Regions from separate parts of the Homo sapiens genome. Here region 2 is linked to region 1. The links are contacts of gene promoters, found by promoter capture Hi-C in blood cells and fetal thymus (Javierre and others, 2016). All regions are on one chromosome and are shown on one strand. The core of a region is centred on a gene start or on the middle of the fragment in contact, and the rest is flanking DNA. Distances in the headings are between cores, read along the strand shown. Region 1 holds the start of CYP17A1 (cytochrome P450 family 17 subfamily A member 1). Region 2 overlaps CNNM2 (cyclin and CBS domain divalent metal cation transport mediator 2).

Evidence for each region. Contacts are between HindIII fragments. The CHiCAGO score rates a contact against its expected background, and 5 or more counts as called.
Region 2: a fragment that was not itself captured here is called in contact with the fragment with the promoter of CYP17A1 in region 1 in 1 of 17 cell types (erythroblasts); the score reaches 5.9 in erythroblasts.

What each region holds. Positions count from the first base shown.
Region 1 is chr10:102,835,547-102,841,414 of GRCh38, reverse strand. It overlaps CYP17A1 (cytochrome P450 family 17 subfamily A member 1), which reads left to right and starts at 4,002. Exons shown (of 8, transcript NM_000102.4): 1 at 4,002-4,350. The coding sequence starts at 4,054. RefSeq lists a promoter at 3,763-4,042. The HindIII fragment of the contact is 11,808 bases long and covers 1-5,868 here.
Region 2 is chr10:103,030,678-103,036,545 of GRCh38, reverse strand. All of the region lies in intron 1 of CNNM2 (cyclin and CBS domain divalent metal cation transport mediator 2), which reads right to left. Among named protein-coding and RNA genes, the nearest start is that of CNNM2, 120 kb to the right of the region's middle. The HindIII fragment of the contact is 1,115 bases long and covers 1,917-3,031 here.

The sequences.
Region 1 (5,868 bases), core at 2,753-5,252:
AACTAATCCCACTTCTCCTAATTCCCTTTCTTTTTCTCCTTACGAACCTAAAAATCTCACCATTTCTATTAGCCTGAAAATAACATCCCCTTATTCTTCTATTCCTCCTTCAGCACTGGATCTTGCTTACAATAGGTTTTATTTAATAATTCTCTTCCTTATACTTTCTGTCTCACCAGTTTCCCCTCACATTGATTTACCTGCTACACAAAATTATTCTTGCTGGGCTTATGTGCCTTTTCCTCCACTTATTCAACCTCTCACCTGGATGGATGCTCCTGCGGAAATCTATACTAATGATAGTGTGTGGATGCCTGGAGCTACAGATGACCGTTGCCCCACTCAACCAGGAAAAGAAGGCACTGCATTTAATGTTCCTACGGTTATAAATACCCTCCTCTGTGCCTCGGACATGCACCTTGTTGTATCCATCTAGAAACTCAAGTCTGGGCTGCGTACCTTCTGGAGAGATCAGCCACAGGGGAACGGGGACATTTGGTCTCCAGCCTCTCCCTTTCTCCTTTAAGACAAATGAAAGGGGGAGTAATAGGAGATACCCCCTACTTTCAATATAAACCTGTAGGAAAACCATGTCCTAAAATTTTTGAGGGCCCATCTAAATCTTTAATTTGGGAAGATTGTGTTAATTCACATGCAGTACTATTAAAAAATGACTCATATGGTTTAGTAAGAGACTGGGCACCAAAGGGCTATTTGAAAAGCAGTTGCTCTTCTGCTGGAAGGGAATGCCTGGAGGCTACTTGTTTTATTTCTTATTGGGAGGACGAGGATCATCATCCTACTTTGCATAGGAGGTTCAGCTCATTCTGTCCCTTAAAATGGGAAGATAAGAGCATTACCCCCTGCCACCCGAGGCCTCTTATGATATCCCCCATTCTGAGCCCAGAACACCCAGAACTTTGGAAATTGGCTATTGCCATGTCCAGACTGCGAGTATGGGAAGGGGAAACTTTTCTTTCTGTTGTCCCCACTACCACCCCTCACATCCGTGATTCTGAAACCCATGATAAATCCCCTTTGGACCATTTTCCTCTTTTTGATGCCAGTCCTCCTTTATGGGACTCTGATTGGCATTATGATAATTCTTCTGGACCCAGGTATGTCCCCCTACCTCTTCAGAATCCCCGGGCACCTCGGATTGCTTCTTTACGGCATCAAACATTGGGCGTTGCCACCGCCACTCCTCCCCCTCGGTATCAACGTAGATTCAAACATTCTGCTTTGTTTACCTCCAGCCTGACTATTATACAGAGTTGTGTTAAGCCTCCTTACATGCTGTTAGTGGGAAATATCAAAATTTGGATGAACAATCAAACCGTCCAATGCATTAATTGTCATTTATCCACTTGTGTTAACTCCCGTTTTGACTCAGGAAAAGTGTAATGTTGGTTCGAGCTTGAGAAGGAATCTGGATACCAGTAACTTTACCCAGAACTTGGGAATCTTCCCCCTCAGTACATTTAATTAATGAAGTGTTACAACGAATTCTCAAAAGATCAAGAGATTTGTTTTCACTTTAATCACTGTGATCATGGGCCTAATTACAGTCACTGCACTGGCCACCACTGCCGGAGTGGCATTACACCAATCTATTCAAATGGCTAATTTTGTTAATGATTGGTAAGGCAATTCCACCCAAATGTGGAATCCTCAACAAGGCATTGATCAAAAATTAGCTAATGATTTAAGACAGTCTGTTATTTGGCTTGGGGACCAGCTAATGAGTCTCGAACATCACATGCAAATGCAGTTCGATTGCAACACTTCTGATTTCTATAGCACACCATATTCCTACAACGAGACTGATCATGGGAAATGGTCAAAGGACACCTTCTGGGTAGGGAAGATAATTTATCCTTGGACATAACTAAATTAAAGAAACAAATTTTTGAAGCCTCTCAAGCTCATTTATCCATTGTGCCTGGAGCTGAGGCGTTAGATCAGGTGGCAGAAAGTCTTTCTGGACTAAACTCCACAACTTGGATTAAGTCTACTGGGGGCTCCACTGTAGGAAATTTTGGAATCATGTTTCTCTGTTTAATCGGCTTGTTTTTAGTGTGCCAGACCAGTCAAAGAATCCTGCATCAAAACCGAGAGAACGAGCAAGCCTTCATCGCCACGGCACATTTATATAAAAAGAAAGGGAGAGATGTTGCGGGAAGTCAGGGACCCTGAATGGAGGGACTGGCTGGAGCCATGGCAGAGGAACATAAATTGTGAAGATTTCATTTTAATATGGACATTTATCAGTTCCCAAATAATACTTTTATAATTTCTTATGCCTGTCTTTACTTTAATCTCTTAATCCTGTTATCTTTGTAAGCTGAGGATGTTTGTCACTTCAGGACCACTGTGATAATTGTGTTAACTGTACAAATTGATTGTAAGACATGTGTTTGAACAATATGAAATTAGTGCACCTTGAAAAAGAACAGAATAAGAGCAATTTTTAGGGAACAAGGGAAAACAACCATAAGGTCTGACTGCCTGCAGGGTCGGGCAGAAAGAGCCATATTTTCCTTCTTGAGAGAGGCTATAAATGGACATGCAAGTAGGGAAGATATCACTAAATTCTTTTCCTAGCAAGGAGTATTATTATTAATACCCTGGGAAAGGAATGCATTCCTGGGGGGAGGTCTATAAACAGCCGCTCTGGGAATGTCTATCTTGTGCAGTTGAGATAAGGACTGAGATACGCCCTGGTCTCCTGCAGTACCCTCAGGCTTACTAGGGTGGGGAAAAACTCCGCCCTGGTAAATTTGTGGTCAGACCGGTTCTCTGCTGTCGAACCCTGTTTGCTGTTGTTTAAGGTGTTTATCAAGACAGTATGTGCACCGCTGAACATAGACCCTCATCTGTAGTTCTGCTTTTGCCCTTTGCCTTGTGATCTTTGTTGGACCCTTATCAGTGGTTCTGCTTTTGCCCTTTGCCTTGTGATCTTTGTTGGACCCTTATCGGTAGTTCTGCTTTTGCCCTTTGTCCTTTCCCTCAGAAGCATGTGATCTTTGTTAGACACTTATTAGTAGTTCTGCTTTTCGCCCTTTGAAGCATGTGATCTTTGTACCTACTCCCTGTTCTTACACCCCCTCCCCTTTTTGAAACCCTTAATAAAAACTTGCTGGTTTGAGGCTCAGGTGGGTATCACAGTCCTACCGATATGTGATGCCACCCCCGGCGGCCCAGCTGTAAAATTCCTCTCTTTATACTGTCTCTCTTTATTTCTCAGCCGGCTGACACTTATAGAAAGAACCTACGTTGAAATATTGGGGGTGGGTTCCCCCAGTACGCTAGTCCTGCTGATGAGCAAAGAAGGTGTTGATGGCATTTTGATCAACAAGAAATGTTATGAAACGGCCTCCCACCTCTGGCATTCCTAGTACTGACCTATCTCTCCCTTCCCTTCCACCGCTCCCCACAGCTTAGCACCCCTTTCGTTCCCATACACATGTACATTTTTATTTTGGGGACCATTAACCCACAGCCCTTATCGCTGCCAAAACCACATGGGCTGGAGGGCCAGGGCTGCATGGACAGTCACACCACTGCACACCAGCCTGGTGATGGAGCAAGACTCTGAAAAAAAAAAAAAGAAGCATAAAAGACCTTTAACAGTCCCTGCTACTTGTGACCCTCCTGAATCTGTCATCTGTCCAGTGATTTTGATTTTGCAACATGGAAAGTTCCAAGCCTTGACTCCTGAGCCCAGATACCATTCGCACTCTGGAGTCATTCAAGCATGGGGAGCTCCTCAGAGGGTGATCAACTGACCTCCCTTACCTAGCTCCTCCTCCGGAGGTTTGCCCTGGAGTTGAGCCAGCCCTTGAGGAGGCCTTCACTCCCACCGCCTCTCTCCCTTCTGGATATGAGCTCAGGCCTGGCTGGGCTCCAGGAGAATCTTTCCACAAGGCAAGAGATAACACAAAGTCAAGGTGAAGATCAGGGTAGCCCTTTAAAAGGCCTCCTTGTGCCCTAGAGTTGCCACAGCTCTTCTACTCCACTGCTGTCTATCTTGCCTGCCGGCACCCAGCCACCATGTGGGAGCTCGTGGCTCTCTTGCTGCTTACCCTAGCTTATTTGTTTTGGCCCAAGAGAAGGTGCCCTGGTGCCAAGTACCCCAAGAGCCTCCTGTCCCTGCCCCTGGTGGGCAGCCTGCCATTCCTCCCCAGACACGGCCATATGCATAACAACTTCTTCAAGCTGCAGAAAAAATATGGCCCCATCTATTCGGTTCGTATGGGCACCAAGACTACAGTGATTGTCGGCCACCACCAGCTGGCCAAGGAGGTGCTTATTAAGAAGGGCAAGGACTTCTCTGGGCGGCCTCAAATGGTAAGTGGTGCCCATCTCCTCCCTGCCCCCTTCACCACCCCCTGGGATTGTTCAGGTCTTCAGACCATGCCTAGAATGGGGCTTCCAGCTCCAACAACCTGTAATTCTTCCCAAAGTAGACTAGTGGGATGATGTGAAGGGAGTGAACCTTCAGACCCCCACCCAGCCTCTAAATTAGGCAGGAAGAATTAAAGGAATGTCTCCTCTACCAGGCTGCCCAGGAGGTGGGATGGGAGGACCACAGTGGTCTGAGGGGTCAAGGAATCCTCACTCCACTCCTCTCTCTGAGCCTAGACTTCTCTAATGGACTGAGAAGGTGCATGTACAGCACTTAGCCTAGCACCCAGCACAGTAAGTGCCCCTTATACAGCCAGGATTCATGTTACTTTTCATGGAAAATGGGGGCAGTGACTACTGTCCTCCATGAAAGCTGCTGGGGAGAATTAGCCTAGCTATTGCAGGCTGGGATTGCTGCTTTCCTGGTGCTATTTCCAGCTACTCAGGCTCACAGGGGCAGTTTTCTACAATGACATTTCAGGGTTGCTGATGAGCCTCCCACTCAGCAGGGCCCCCAGCCTCTCAGCATTTTTTTTTTTTTTTTTTTTTTTTGAGACAGAGTCTCTCTCTGTCGCCCAGCCTGGAGTGCAGTGGCCAATCTCAGCTCACTGCAACCTCTGCCTCCCGGGTTCAAGTGATTCTCCTGCCTCAGCCTCCTGAGTACCTGGGACTACAGGAGCATGCCACCATGCCCGCTAATTTTTTGTATTTTTAGTAGAGATGGTGTTTCACCATGTTAGCCAGGATGGTCTCGATCTCCTGACCTCGTGATCCTCCCACCTTAGCCTCCCAAAGTGCTAGGATTATAGGCGTAAGCCACTGTGCCCTGCCAGCCTCTCAGCTTTGATCAAGCCAAGGGTTGGTTTATTTTTTCTTGGACCAATCAGCCAGGTCTGCTGACCAACTACCTAGCTCCCACCTCTGCTGGCTTCCTCCCGGGGGCAGAGAAGATGGAGAAGGCTAGTCATGTGGATCTTCAGGGTCAGGAAATGGAAAAGGGAGGCTTTGGACCCTTTTGCTTTGGGGGGCACCTCTAGGAGGAGGCGGCTCGGCCCAAGTCCAGACTGGGTAGACAAAACATCTGCACTCTCCAAATGTGGGCTTGTGGCTGGGTATGCAGGCTTGCAATGGAAGGGTAAACCTGAGTGAGGTGAGCTGTGCCTTTAGCTCAGCTAAGGGCTCAGGGAAAAGCAGAGATCTGTGCAGTCCTCAGCCTCTACAAGCTCACCTGCTCCCTACCCTCTGGACAGGCATAGTTTAGAGAGTTTATCCCATCCAGAGTTGCCTTCCTGTGGTCAGAAACTGATGAGCAAAAAGAAGCCCAGAGGGCACCCTGTCAGCGAAAAGAACCCCAATGCTGCTGCATTCTAATTAAGGGTTCTTTCTTTCTCCTTGATCTACTGTATTTCTGAAGGAATTGGGAGTAGGAGGCCTTAGGGTCTGTCCTACCAAGTCCTTGCA
Region 2 (5,868 bases), core at 1,225-3,724, 200 kb before region 1:
ATGATTTTCCAGGCAGCTCCTCTTTGGCTTCTCCCAATGTGTTGATGAATTTAACAATCCCTGGTAATTCAATTAAACACTAATCTAGGTGCTGTTGTGAAGGGATTTTGCAGATGCAAATGAAGTCCCTAATGGGACTTCATGGGTTGACTTTAAGGGAGATCACTCTTGGTAGACCTGACTTAATCAGTTGGAAGGCCTTAAAAGCCGGGCCTTAAGACTTTCTGAAGGAGAGAAGAAATTTCTCCCATAGAAAACAACTTCAGACTGTGCCTGTGGGATTCCAGCCTGCTTGTCATCTTCTCTTCCTAATGACCTGTCCTATCAATTTGGGCTTTCTTAAACATCCTCCACAATACATAAGCTAGAGTCTTATAATAAATCCCTTGATGAAAGAGTGTGTGTGTGTGTGTGTGTCCTATTGGTTTTGTTTCTCTGGTTGGATCCTGACTGATAGACTCAGGATCTATACCACAAAGGGATTAACAGAAAGCAGAAAGCAAAAGGAAAACTAGGATTAAACTAAGTTCTCATTTCCCAAAGCCAAGACAGCTAATGACTGATGCGTATAAGAAGACAAACTAATGTGTGTGCGCTATGCCAGAGAATTCGATCCATGAACTTCCCGGTGACAACAGCAGACACAGAAAGTAAAGTAACCCTCTGAAACAAAGAAACCTAAACTGTTTAAAAGACAAGAAGCCAAGTCATTTACTTCTAGCCATCCAAGTGGATGGTCCTATCAAAGACAGCCCTCCAGCCCTCTCCCCTAAGTTAGGATTCCAGGCAATAAACAAACAATGGATGGTCTCACATTCCCACCACCACCCACTCCTTTTCTCTTTCGCTTGTTCTTCAGTCTTGCTGCCAGATACTTTAGCCAGAAACCCAAAGTGAGGCAATTAATAGAAAATTCCAGTCATTATGTGACTTACTTAATGGCCCATCCAAATGACTTGTGAGAAAATCTCATGAACCAACAGAACAGAGACTGAAGAGTTTTTTCCATTATTTCTCTCTCTGAGTATTTAAAGACTCGGATTTTCCCATCTTTTGGGGAAATATTTTCTTATAAATAGTGAGGCATGCTGGGCATCTCCACTTCATCTTTTTTGGTGGTCTGTAACACTCACTGTACACTCATTGGAATGTTTCCCTAGTAAGTGATGGGCAATGGAAAACATGGCTAAGACAAAAGATGGCTTTCAGGCTGAGATGATGGGAACCTTCTCATGTTCCCCAAGAGACAGGTAGTTCTTCTATAGAACTAAGGGGTTTATTTTAGAACCAATGAGACTATTTCTGTCTTTCCTTTAGGCCTGCAGCGTTTATAAGAATGATAAACGAGGACTGACCAGACTACTTAGTAGTCCGTTTAGTAGAATTCCAATATATCCAATAATAGTAGGAGTTATTTTTTATTTTTCAAGACACGGTCCCACTATGTTGCCCAGACTGGTCTCGAATTCCTGGACTCAAGTGATCCTTCCACCTCAGCCTCCCAAAGTGCTGGGATTATAGACATGAACCACCATGCCCAGCCAATAGTAGGAGATTTTTTTTTTTTTTTTTTGAGACGGAGTCTCGCTCTGTCGCCCAGGCCGGACTGCAGACTGCAGTGGCGCAATCTCGGCTCACTGCAAGCTCCGCTTCCCGGGTTCACGCCATTCTCCTGCCTCAGCCTCCCGAGTAGCTGGGACTACAGGCGCCCGCCACCGCGCCCGGCTAATTTTTTGTATTTTTAGTAGAGACGGGGTTTCACCTTGTTAGCCAGGATGGTCTCGATCAGTAGGAGATTTTTAAAAGAGATCTATACTTCTGCTGCTAAGCCCAAATGTTAGGGCTTTGGTTTTATGATTTACTCTTCTGTTCCATTATAAGGTTTTAGTTTTTAGACCAATAATTATTTAGAAGCTTTGTTTTACAGTCCAAACTTACTGATTTCAACTAAGCTAATTTCTTGGCTGATTTCTACAACACAAGTAGACAAGATCAGTAATTATACAAAAGTCATACATAAAAATGTGGTCCTGTTGTCACAGTCACTGAACAAAAATTACCTAAGCCCAGACAATGTGCTAAATAACACTGCAGATCAAACCACACCGTACATTTGCTGCAGTCACAGGCGTTTTAAGGAGAGGAATGAGGTCGGTTTTTAAACCTGCTTGAAGGGGAAAGTAATGGTTTTTTTTGTTTTGTTTTGTTTTTAAAACCAAAAAAAAAAAACAAGAAAGACAGACCTTAACCCCTTTTCTCACTCAAGTCTCCTCTTTTTGGGAAGTCCTTCCTGATGACCTCAATTTGGAGCGAGGTAGAATTGCTATTATTTATTATTATACATTTAATAGTAAACATATATTACATAGTTAATAATTATGTGATATAAGGGAAAAGAGCTATCAAGATTATCCCCCTCCCAAAAAATCTCTGGATATTAGAAGGAAAATTAATCATCTAGATAAATTCTTATCCAATGTATTAATTATCTTCTGTAAATTTTGTGCATATGATAAACTTCAAAAAAAAAAATGAAAGGGTGAAAATATTTCAAGGTCTTCCTCATTGTCCTAAAATCCTAGCATTTTACTTTTGCTTCCTGTCCCCAGAAACTTCAAGCACTTCATCTTCATTATAGAGGAGAAAAAAGATGCAAACAACTTTTAAAACCCAGTGTTCTCTATTATAGATTCCTTCATAATTCCTACTCACCATTCCCATGATCTACTTTCCCCCAATAGCTCTTAAAAATGTGTAGAAGGGCTGGGCACGGTGGCTCACGCCTGTAATCCCAGCACTTTGGGAGGCCGAGGCAGGCGGATCACAAGGTTAGGAGTTCGAGACCAGCCTGGCCAACATGGTGAAACCCCCATCTCTACCAACCAAAAATAGGATCCTAGGGTAGAATTTGTGTTTATGGCTTTCCTAACTCATCCTCCTTTAAGTTGTAGAGACGGATGTATTTCAAGAGAGGAAATTTTTTGCAACATTTTCACAATTGTTTGTACATGTTTTTTCTTCACCAGAAGCTTTTTAAAAAAAACCTTAGATTGTCCAGGCGTGGTGGCTCACGCCTATTTGTAATCCCAGCACTTTGGGAGGCCAAGGCAGGCAGATCAGGAGGTCTGGAGATTGAGACTGTCCTGGCTAACACAGTGAAACCCCGTCTCTACTAAAAAATACAATAAAATTAAGTGGGCCTGGTGGTGGGCGCCTGTAGTCCCAACTACTCGGGAGGCTGAGGCAGGAGAATTGCTTGAACCTGGGAGGCGGAGGTTGCAGTGAGCTGAGATCATGCCATTGTACTCCAGCCTGTGTGACAAAGCAAGACTCCATCTCAAAAACATAAAAATAAAAATAAAATAAATTTAAAAAATGTATAGAAGACAAAAATTAGTTTTTCTGTTTTTCTTTTCTTTTTTTTTTTTTGGACAGGGTCTTACTCTGTCACTCAGGCTAGAGTGCAGTGGCATGATCATGGCTCACTACAACCTCCACCTCTTGGGTTCATGTGATTCTCCTGCCTCAGCCTCATAAGTAGCTGGGATTACAGGCATGGGTAGCCACATCTGGCTAATTTTTGTATCTTTTGTAGTGACAGGGTTTCACCATGTTGCCCAGGCTGGTCTCAAACTCTTAAGCTCAAGCAATCCATCCACCTCAGCCTCCCAAAGTGTTGGGATTACAGACGTGAGCCACCACACTCAGCTAAGTTTTTATATTTCTATAAGAAAAAAGTCACCACCTAAACATCCACGATAAAGCCCCGTTAAGTAAATTCTACAATATCCACACTAGAATGCTATGCAGCTAGCGTGGATATAGTAGGATTCTATCAGCAATAGAATGCTATGCAGCTATTTAAAAAAAAAAAAAAAAAAAAAGAGCTACATCAATTGTTATGAAAGGCTACTCTAAAAAAAAGTCATGTAGAATATTATAGTATGTTCCCATTTGTATTCATTGTAATTAATTGCATTAATCATAATTATATATAGAAAACTCTAGAAACAAATGTTAACAGTGGCATTCTGGATGAAATTTGCAGTACTGTTAAAAATTTGCATTCTACAGGGTAATTCTTTTTTTCTTTTTGAGATGGAGTCTCACTCTGTCCCCCAGGTTGGAGTGCGGTGGGGTGATCTCGGCTCGCTGCAACCTCCATCTCCCAGGTTCAAGCGATTCTCCTGCCTCAGCCTCCTGAGTAGCTGGAATTACAGATGTGCACCATCACGCCCAGCTGTTTTTTGTCTTTTTTAGTAGAGATGGGGTTTCACCATGTTGGCCAGGCTGGTCTTGAACTCCTGACCTCAGGTGATCCACCTGCCTCGGCCTCCCAAAGTGCTGGGATTACAGGCATGAGTCACCGTACCCGGCCCCTAATGTATATATTTCTAACAAGAGAAAATGTGTATTTCAACCAGGGATCAAGGGGAATAGGGTCCTCTGACAGTGTTGGACACCTCTAAAAAGCCACTTCCAACCCCCTAGGCCCCAGTGCTCACTCCCTCCACTGCCGCAGTGACTAGTTCACGCAGGCTTGCAGTGGCTTCATGCTCGTGCATCAGTGCAGGCAGACACTGCCTCATTGCTAATGCTCAATATTTCACTTCCTGCCTTAGGATTTCTCTTGAAACTTATTCTGCAGTTATGCATATGCAAACAAGAGGGAGAAATCAACGGGATAAATCCCCTCACGCCCCCCCCGCATTTTGTACTTAAGCAGACAGTTCTGAGAGCATTCCATTCCATAGGTTCCTAAAAAGGTTCTAGTGGAATTGAACACCTGCTGCCTAGGCGCTATCAGATCCTTAAATTTTCTTTCCCTCCTTCTCATTTCACTTTCCTTGTCCTGAACTCCTGCTTCCTGGGACTGCACTCCATATAAACTTCCCTGCATGCAAGTCTTTCTACCAGGCTGATGTTCAGGCTAAGACATCGGGTGAGTGGAAAGTTTTTCCACCAGCCACTTTTTGGTTTCACACATTTCATGCTCTTCTACTTGCAGATTCCAGTGCCAGATGTGTTAGAACACACTCCTGTCTCAATACAATGCAGGGCTTGTACCTTTGAGTGACATCCACATTGTTGGATATCATTTATGCAGTGAGATGGCCACCAATAACTATACATCAAAGTGACTGCAACCACAGAGATATATCCCAGTAAACTCAAACAAAGTGTATATCCACAGCTTAACTTTCCCACAGCTGAATCCCAAAAATGCTTGGGACCACTCCAACATTGCCACACACAAGAGTAAGAGAGGGTAACTCAATGTGGAAAGAGTAATTTTGGCCCACAGTAAACTTTCCGATTTTTCAAAATTTACAAATACACATAAACATGTAAAACTTGCTAGGGGTCTTCCCAGGGCCTTGGAAGCAGCCCACACATCTGAGCACTTAAGCTTTAGCTTCATTAGCTTTGTGGTAATATGCTTTTCACGATGCACTAATTGAGTAACTACAACAAAGGGAGCATAAAGCACAGACTGAAAACCCTAAAATCTACATACTCCACCATCCCAGTCTCATCTAAACCTCAGATATAAAAATATTCCATCTGTCCATCTGGTCCTCCTCCTCCTCTTGTCCAATAAGCATCTTAAGTTCAACATGTCCAAAACTAAACCTATCATCTTCTTCACAAAACCTGTTTCCCTGCTTCTAATCCTTATACTAATGACATCTGTAAAGGTCAAATGTGAAACTGTGAAAGTCAACTTAGATGCCTCTTTTCCCTCTAGTTTCATCCGGCTATGACATATTGGTACCTAACATTGTGTTAGGTTCTAAATTTAAGACTGCCTCCTAAATATCGACTTCCCCCCCTGCCAAGAGGGAGCCTCACTCTGTTGCCCAGGCT